3 separate regions of the Homo sapiens genome follow, and all the other regions are linked to region 2. Evidence: promoter capture Hi-C in human tissues and cell types (Jung and others, 2019). All regions are on one chromosome and are shown on one strand. The core of a region is centred on a gene start or on the middle of the fragment in contact, and the rest is flanking DNA. Distances in the headings are between cores, read along the strand shown. Region 1 overlaps FBXW7 (F-box and WD repeat domain containing 7). Region 2 holds the start of LRBA (LPS responsive beige-like anchor protein). Region 3 overlaps ARFIP1 (ARF interacting protein 1).

Region 1 (2,832 bases), core at 230-2,729, 1.4 Mb after region 2:
AAAGTTGGTGAAATAATAATTTCAAAAGGAACTTACATTTGTTATTATGTTTAAAATATATATATCTTACATTTACTGTTTATATATTGGGGTTTTGTCAGGACAGAGGTGGGAACTGAAATATAAGCAAGATACAAAATTTATCCCCAGCTTTTTCACTCACTTACTAGCGTTAAGCAATTAACATTTTCAAGCTAAACCTTTAGAAGCTACAGGAGGACTCTGTGAAGATTCTATACTTGGCACCAACATCAATCCTTCAAATGTCAAGGAAAGGTAAATTGCCTATGGCATGGAAATTCTGCAAACAACCTTCAAAGTACCACAGAGTCATCTACTAAACCATTAAGAAATAGGATAGAAGGACTCTTAGCAAACTAGGAATAGAGGGGAGGAACTTTCTCAACTTGATAAAGACTACCTATAAAAAGCCTACAGCTAACATCACACTTAAGGATGGAAACTCAAAGCTGTCCTACTAAGATCAGACACAAGGCAAGAATGTCCTCTTTAACCACTGCTTTTCAACATCATAGGGGAAGTCCTAGTTAAAGCACAAAGACAAGAAAAGGAAGTAAAAGATAAAGAGATTAAGAAAGAGGAAATAACACTGTCTTTTTTGGCACATGACATGACCCTCTACATAGAAAATCCTAAAAAATTGACCAAAAAAAAGCAATTATAGCAAGGTTGCAAGATATAAGATTAATATATAATAAGTCAATTATTTTCCTACACACCAGCAATGAAAAAGTGAAATCTGAAATGACAAATACAGTATCATTTACATTAGCAGCCCCCTGAAATAAAATATTTAGGGATGAATCTAATAAAATATGTATAAGATCTACATAATGAAAACTATAAAACTCTGATAAAAAATCAAAGAAGAACTAAATAAATGGAGATATATTCCATGTTCTTGCACAGGAAGACTCAATACTGTCAAGATGTCAGTCCTTGCCAATCTCATCTATAGTTTCAAAGCAATACCAATCAAAATCCCAGCAAGTAACAGATATCAACGAACTGATTCTAAAACTTATATGGAGAGGCAAAAGACCCAGAATAGCCAAAACGATACTGAAGGAGAGGAATGAAGCTGGGAGATAGACACTCTCCAACTTCAAGGCTTACTATAAAGCTACAGTAACCAAGACAGTGTGGTATTGGTGAAAGAATTAAAAGTAGATGAATGGAACAGAATAGAGAGACCAGAATATGGTACAGTGATCTTTGACAATGGAACAAAGGCAGTACAATGTAGAAAAGCTAGTCTTTTCCGCAAATGGTGCTGAACCACCGAACATCCACATGCAAATAAATGAATCTAAACAAAGGCCTTACAACCTTCACAAAATTAACTCAAAATGGATCATAGACATAAATGTAAAGTGCAGAACTATAAAACTCTTAGAAGATAACATAAGAGAAAACCTAAATGGCCTTGGGTATAGACATGACTTTTTGCTGGGGTAGAGTGGTATGATCTTGGCTCACCACATCCTTGATGTCCCAGGCTCAAGCAATCCTCCAACCTCAGCCTCTCGGGTTGCTAAGATCACAGGAACGCACCACCATGCCTGGCTAATTTTGTGCATTTTTTTTTTTTAAGGAGGAGGTCTCAGTATGTTGCCCAGGCTGGTCTCAAACTCCTGGGCTCAAGCGATCCTCCCACCTCAGCCTGCCAAAGTGCTGGGATTATAGGTGTGAGCCATGGCACCCAGCCGGAAATGACATTTTAGATACAACAATACAATACTAACAGCATGATACATGAAAGAAATAATTCATAAGCTGGACTCTACTAAAATAGGAATGTCAGCTCTCTGAAAGACACTGTCAGGAAAATAAGAACATAAGCCACAGACTGGAAGAAAGTATTTGCAAAATGCACATGGGATAAACGATTGTTATCCAAAATATACAACAGTAACAGAACAACCTGACTAAAACATGGACAAAAGATCTGGACAGACACCTCACCAAAGGAGATTTACAGATGGGAAGTAAGCACAGGAAAAGATGGTCAACATCATATATCACTAGGGAACTTCAAATGGTAACAAAGAGATACCATACACACCTATCAGAATGGTCAAAATCCAGAACACTGACAACACTATATGCCACTGAAGATGTGGAGCCACAGGAACTCTCATTCACTGTTGGTGGGAATGCAAAAGTATATAGACACTTTGGAAGCCATTTGGCAGTTTCTTACAAAATTAATCATACTGTTAACTTGCAATCCTGGAATCACACTCCTTGGCATTTACGCAAAGGAGTTAAAAACTTAGTCCATGCAAAATCCTGCACACAGATTTTCACAAGCAGCTATATTCATAATTGCCAATTATGTGGAAGCAACCAAGATGTCTTTCACTAGGGAAGTGGATAAACTGTGGTATATCCAAACAATGGAATATTATTCAGTGCTAGAAGGAAATGAGCTATCAAGCTATAAATATACATGAAGGAAAAGTCAATGCATATTACGTAAGTGAAAGAAGCCAATCTGAAAGGCTACATACTGTATAATTCCAACTATATGACATTCTGGAAAAAGCAAAACTATGGAGACGGTGAAAGGATCAGTGGCGATGAGAGGCTGGGGAAGAAAGGGATGAATAGGCAGAACACAGGACTTTTAAGGTAGTGAAACCATTCTCTATGGTACTACATTGGTAGATGCGTGTCAATACACATTTGCCCACACCCACAGAGTGCACAACACCAAGAGTGAGACCTTGGTGGAAACTATGGATTCTGGATAATGATATGACAAAGGTAGATTCACTGACTATAACAAATGTACTACTCTGGTAAGGG
Region 2 (3,292 bases), core at 412-2,911:
GACTGAAGCAGGAGGATAGCTTGAACTTAGGAGTTTGAGAACAGCCTGGGCAACATAGAGAGGCCTCATCCCCCTCCCACCCCCACCCGAAAAAAAGCATTCATAGCTCATCTTAGTATAATCAGCAACTTCCAATGACTAACTATGCTTTCCTGCTAGACATGAATTTATAAAACACATAAAAATTATACTGTATCTGCTTCAATTCCTTTTTTCATATTGCCATTCAATTTTCACAAGATTACTTTAAATGCAATCCTAAATTCATCACCAATTTAACTTTTGTTAGTTATGTCTAAAAATAAAACTAGTCAAAATTAAAAATACTAACTTTGCAGCAAATTAATCTTGCATCAGCACTACAAACAAATTTTTAAACTTATTGTAGCAAAACATAACTTCGACAGAATCAAAGACATTAATTCTCAAGTCCAAAAAAAGGTCACAAGAAATTATTTAAAGTGGTAAAGGGAAACGCAGACTTAGGCATACAAGCCAAGAAAAAAAAAATTAGAGATAACTCCTCCGCTAGAACCTCCCCCCAATACTTCCATAGCAACAATTATTTCCTTAGCACAAAAGTGATGTGTTCACTTTCACAAAACCTGGATCATCTAAGTTTGCACAATTCCCTTCAATCTAAAAAACAGATGAAATTGTTTCATTTAGGTGAGTAGAATTTTGTGTCCCTATACACGAAAAAAGTCACCATCAGTGTGAGTAAACCACATGGCTCCAGCTTTAAGATCTTGTTCCCCAACCCACTGAAAAGAGTATATGCTTATAAAATATTCATGGACTTACCAGGTTAAAGACAGTTTCTACAATATCCCTATTGGATACTTCTCCAACTTCAACCAAACCGGTCAACACGGCAAATTTCATTCTGATGCCCCTGATGGGGAGCCCTGGTTTCAGAGACAATGCACCCCCTTCAGTAGGGGTTTCTTCTCTCCCTCCACCTCCCCCGTCATCACCTGTTGGTGGCGGGGAAGGGACACGATTGTCTTCGCTAGCCATTGCTAGCTCACGATAAAGGACAACTCAGAGTCACCCTGGGACGGCAGTCGCTGCACTGGTAATGAGCACAACACACGCAATGCAAAACGAAAGGGTCCCTCTTCCAACTTGTGGAGATACCCCAAAGCAGTTGATGTGGAAAGTCCTTGGCGTCGCCCTCCTCCTCTTGGAGAATATTTGTCCAATCTCTCTCCCCGAGGCTGACAACAACGCCAAACCCTATTGGAAGATTAAATATATGTTAAATAGGCTAGGTTTTGTTTTAGGGTTTTGAGGGGACAAGAGGGAAATAGTTATTGTCGGTCAAGTAAGTTACTAAAGGCACCCCACTACTAGCCACCCGCTTCTCCCGGGCTCAAAAAGCTGGGTTCTGGGTGAAGGCAGGTCCAAGAGGCCCCCGAACAGGCTCACTCCTCCCCCACTCTCGTGCAGGTTCTAGGCGCAGGGTAACCTCTCCTCACAGGTGCACTAGAAAGAGAAACTGTCGCGGGGAAAGGAGGGATCGGAGGAAAGAAGGGGGGCCCACAAGCTATCACAGAGGTAGAAAGTTCTTCCTCACCCAGATACTCCGGACTCGTCCTCACCCCCCGCCCAGGAGCAGCGAGACCGAGGTGGCGGCGGAGATCCAGGGCAGGAAAAGGCGGGGGAAGGGGGCGGTGATTATTCTAAATGCTCGGCCCAGTGGGAGGAGTGAAGCACCTCTCTCAGGCACCTGAGATTCGACGGGAAGGGGTGGGGAGGTGTGTGTGGTGGCAGGAAGGGAGGGGAGCGGCCAGAGAAACCCAGCGGCCACCGCAGGGAGAGAAGGGAGGACAGAGAGGTCAGTGCACCTGGTCGCAGCCTCCAAGTTTCCCTAGTCCGCTCCCCGGGAGTCCGCGGCTGCACAGAACTCCATGGCTTCCTGGCCCGCCCCGCCCCTGCGCTCAGCCTTTGCAAAAGCAGCCGCTGCTGGCGCTACGGGCGCCGCGGCTGAGGCTGCTGCGAGTGGTGAGGATGCTACTGCCACAGCTCGCCCCGCCACGGGTCGCGCGGCTGTCGTGTGCCCACTGAAGCTGCTCCCGGCCGCCATGACAGCGCCGAGTGCTGCCGGGCGCGGCGTGCGCGTGCGCGAGCGCGAGTGCGCGGGGCGGGAGGGCGCGAAGGCGGAGGCAGCCGCGCGGCGGGGGCGCGGTGACGACGCGCGGACAGCCAAGGGGGCCCCGAGCCAGCCGGAGTGCTGGGCTGGGGCTTCCGGCTGCACTAGGCGCGCTGCTCTGGTAGCACCAGGTGTGTACCCGGCCCGGCGAGGAGAGACCCTTCCGTCCGAGGGCCTACACTTTCCCCTCTCCCACTCTCGGACCTCGGGAGGTGCTTCTGCCAAGTCCTGAGGCGGGGATTTTGGCGCTCCTGCTGTTGTTAAGTTACCGTAGGGTCTCTTGGCGCGGAGGGAACACGCGCTGCGTTGCCTAGGTGTCTCATTGGACTTGGAGAAGAACACCTGAGGCACCTCTACGAGCCAGAGAGGTGACGGCGCTGGAGCCAGTGAGGCTGCTGTCCCTGCCCAATGGGAGCGAGGAGTCCCCACCCCTGGCTGCTTTCAGCTGTTGCCCGCCCGCCGCTCTCGGCGGAGACTTGGAGATTTCCACTGGGATACCTCGGCAGCTGCCGCCATTCGGGAGGGGAGGGGAGGGGACCGAGTCGACGAGGAATGGGAAAGATTCCTTGCTTTGCAGCTGCCGCGCCACGAAACCTCTCCCACATTCATTCTAGGCAGAGGATTCCTGAGACAGCTGCTATAAACAGCGTGGAGACAGGGTTCCTTGTGCCTGTAGACCTCCGAAGGGTTTTTTCCTCTCGTGATTTTCCAATGTGAAGATTAGGCTCGCGTCATTCTCAGAGTAGATCAAAAGATAAATTATATTAGGTAGTACAGATAGGTCCTCATACTCAGTGTCCCTTCTTTCCACCCGCTATTAACAGTAAACCATTCTTCCTAGTGAGTGAAAAATAAATTTAGAGGAAGGTGGTTTTTCACCCACGTGTATCCTTTGAGGTCAAAGGGCCTTTTTAAAAATACGCCTAGCTCCTAAAATGAAAGTGAAGCAAAAAGTGGGATTAAACAAAGGAAGAATTCTAGAGAACTTAGGAAAAAATTATAGTGGTTTGAGAAATAGTTTCCTGAAGAAAAAGTTATTTGAGATGGCCTTGAGAAGTGGACAGAAGCCGGGCGCGGTGGCTCACGCCTGTAATCCCAGCACTTTGGGAGGCCCAAGCAGATGGATTGCCTGAGGTC
Region 3 (3,048 bases), core at 268-2,767, 1.9 Mb after region 2:
CAGCTGTGGTTGTATGGAGGGGTAAGGGTGAGGATAGCTGTTAGTAAGATAGCCTTCCGTGGAAATCTCTTCAATAACATTCTCAGTAATTGGTGTTTCAGTCTCAGTGTAAATCCTTTCATGGAAATTATATTTTTCAAAGGGTTCATTATGTATATGAATTTTAAAATTCATTTATATAAGTTTTACTTGATCCTTTTCTAAATTTTTCTGTTCCTTGTTCATAATGTCCTAATTTGTTCATAATGGTACTGTTTCTTTTATCTCTAATCATTTTAAATATTCATATTTTCTAGTCCTTCTGATTGTTTTAACATGTATGGGTTTTAAAGATGGATATTGTTTTCTTCCAAAAATACCCCCACCACCTCCTAGTTGAGAACTTTGTGAATCTAGTTTCTCTACTTTGCAATTGTCTACCTATCCTGAAATATATTTTCGTTAATAATAATCTCTTTCCCTTCAGCTTTTATTTCTAAACAGTTTATAATTAATTTGTAGAGGAGAAAACACTCTAGAGGTTAAATGGTTTGCTCACTTGTAGTCAATTTCAAAGGCAAAATAAGAACCCATTGGTTCTCTATGGTTCACATTTTATCAGTAGGCCTTATACCTGAGTATTAGTGCCCTAAGTATAATGTGGTATAAGATCTCAGATTATAAAATACAGTATATAGGTTCATTTGGAACTTTTGAACAAAATTATAAATCAAGTTACATGTACTTGGTGGCTGGTTTCTTAAGGGAAACCCTTACACAGCCTCTGTGTGTACTTTAAAAAACAACAACAGTAATGTTGTTTTTGTTTTATGTCATCCCGTAATTTATCCTTTTTTATTCAAATTACAATGTATGATCTTATTCATTAAGCTTAGCTTGGGGTTTGACTTTTCTGTTGTTTATGAAATAGCTGTGGAATTGGCTAGTTGTTAACACTAAAACCTTGCCTACTGATGGATAATAGTCAAAAAGAATCCAAGGTTAAAAGTTTTTCAGTAGCTGAATTTCCTTCTCTGTCAAAGCCAGAATTTACTGACTTTTAGGGCAAGGGTCATCTATTTGATCAGTGCAAAAAGTGGTAATTTAGGCAAATGCCCGAGTGGCCTTTTAATCCTCCCTATTATGCATTGTGTACAAGTATTTCCTAGCCCTCTGGTGCTTCATGTATAGAAAATCTTGTAACAGCCCATTCAACACTTCTCCACAGCAGCACCAACAAGGGAGTCAATTGTGGTCGAGACTTTTCAGATGTGGACACCTGTTCTCTAGAAGTTTTACATAAGCCATAAAGTAACCGTCACTAACTTTGTTGATACGGACTCAGTTCAGACGGGCAACCTTGAAGTGAAGTTGCTTTTTGAAAACTTAGTGAGCTTCTCTTCTTGGTGGTAATGAGCACTGTTAGAGAAGCTATTATGGAAAGTTTTACTTTGGTACCACCTACAAACTCTGAATGTAAAATTAAGAAATATAAGGTCAGTATTATAACTTTGAATATGTTTGAGTTAATCACTGTTGTTTAGAAATGCGCTCCAAGGCTATTGAAGGATATTTGTCCTTAGATTAAATCACCATGTATTACTATTTATTTAGTTCTACTTTTTTCTCTTTTATTTCCTATTGTTTTTAGTGTGCTTGCTTCTAGATACCCCTCTTCTAATTTGGCCATAATAATAAGCATTCTAAAGGTATCAGTTATTACCAGGTATCCTGTGTGTTTTATCTATATGAAGTTTTTGTGGAGATTTTTGTTCACATTTATAGATTGAAAAACTGGAGCACAAAGAGATGAAATAACCAGCTCAAGAATAGAGCCAAAAGGCAGAGAGGTCATTCAGCTTGGCTCCTGAACCCATGGATTTAACTAACTAGTTATTATTGCCAAGTCAGTCTTGCCTCCTAAATCTTTTGTATTTGTCTCCTTAGCTCCAATGCCTTTGTCCTGATTCAGTGACTCATTTCTTATATGTCCATCGTTTTCTAATAGGTTTCCTTGCTCCTGATTTTTTAATCATTTATTCTATCCTCCATCTCTTACACTACCACCAGGGTCATCTTTCTATCCTGATACAATCATGTCATTTTTATGTCAGATCAACATTCTTCAGTGGCTTCCCATTACTTCTCCTACTGGATTAAATTTAAACACTTTAACATGGCCTGTAGGGCTGCTTACTTTCAATCCTGCCTGCCTGTCTAATGTTAATTCCTTCCATTGTCATGTTCCAGCTTCAGATTCTGACATACCGAATTCCCAAATGTGTCATTGTATCTTACAAATCTATGCCTTTGTCCATGCTATTCTCTTCAGAATCAGAGTATCCTACTGATTTCTGTATCCCAATTCACCTAGCCAGCTTTTACCATCCTTCAAATTTTAATTATAGTATTTTAATTCTGTCTGAGATACCTTTTCAGATATCTAATTAAATAATTATTCCTCTTGATTTCCATTATACCTTACCCTCATTTATGGTAGTTCTTATTATCTCATTTTGTTGTAATTGTTTACAAGGTTCTCTTCCTCTAGAATGCGAGCTTCTTGAGGATAAACATATCTGTTCATCTTTATAGCTCTACTTTCTAACACAGTGCCTGGAACGTGGAAAGTGCTCACTTGAGAATTGTTGAATGAATCAGTGTATCAGTGAATGAATGAATGGTTCTCTTTTGACCCTGAAAGAGGCCAATTAAATTAAATCTTAACTCATACTGCTAAATTCAGTATGAGTTAAGAATAAATTAGGATCAGTGTGAAGGACTGATGTATTCTTTCTCAAGTCATATATACAATATAGATTATGTTATTTAAAGTATTGTTAATTCCCAGAATAGGAGATGTGAATTATACACCTAATATCTCCAAATAAAGAGCTTTAGTTTTAGGGTATAAGCTTTGTGATTCTGATCTTGACTAAATTAGAGGTCACTTTGCTTCTTCTTTGCTGAGTACCGAATAGTTGAAGCTGCTGGATAAATCACTGTTTAATAAGCAAGATAGTACTATACTTAGACAGGCACTGTGATAGAGCTATTATGAGGAGTTAT

Evidence for each region. Contacts are between HindIII fragments. The study calls those that stand out against the background at their distance.
Region 1: a fragment that was not itself captured here is called in contact with the fragment with the promoter of LRBA in region 2 in 1 of the 25 tissues and cell types used here (dorsolateral prefrontal cortex).
Region 3: a fragment that was not itself captured here is called in contact with the fragment with the promoter of LRBA in region 2 in 1 of the 25 tissues and cell types used here (lymphoblastoid cells).

The regions. Positions count from the first base shown.
Region 1 is chr4:152,398,918-152,401,749 of GRCh38, forward strand. The region is part of intron 4 of FBXW7 (F-box and WD repeat domain containing 7); the gene reads right to left. Among named protein-coding and RNA genes, the nearest start is that of FBXW7-AS1, 63 kb to the left of the region's middle. The HindIII fragment of the contact is 6,303 bases long and covers 1-2,832 here.
Region 2 is chr4:151,013,623-151,016,914 of GRCh38, forward strand. It overlaps LRBA (LPS responsive beige-like anchor protein), which reads right to left and starts at 1,662. Exons shown (of 57, transcript NM_001364905.1): 1 at 1,580-1,662; 2 at 805-1,239. The coding sequence starts at 1,020. RefSeq lists enhancers at 1,092-1,271, 1,452-1,581, 1,933-2,530 and a silencer at 2,082-2,231. The HindIII fragment of the contact is 20,752 bases long and covers 1-3,292 here.
Region 3 is chr4:152,884,192-152,887,239 of GRCh38, forward strand. The region is part of intron 7 of ARFIP1 (ARF interacting protein 1); the gene reads left to right. Among named protein-coding and RNA genes, the nearest start is that of FHDC1, 51 kb to the right of the region's middle. The HindIII fragment of the contact is 4,299 bases long and covers 1-3,048 here.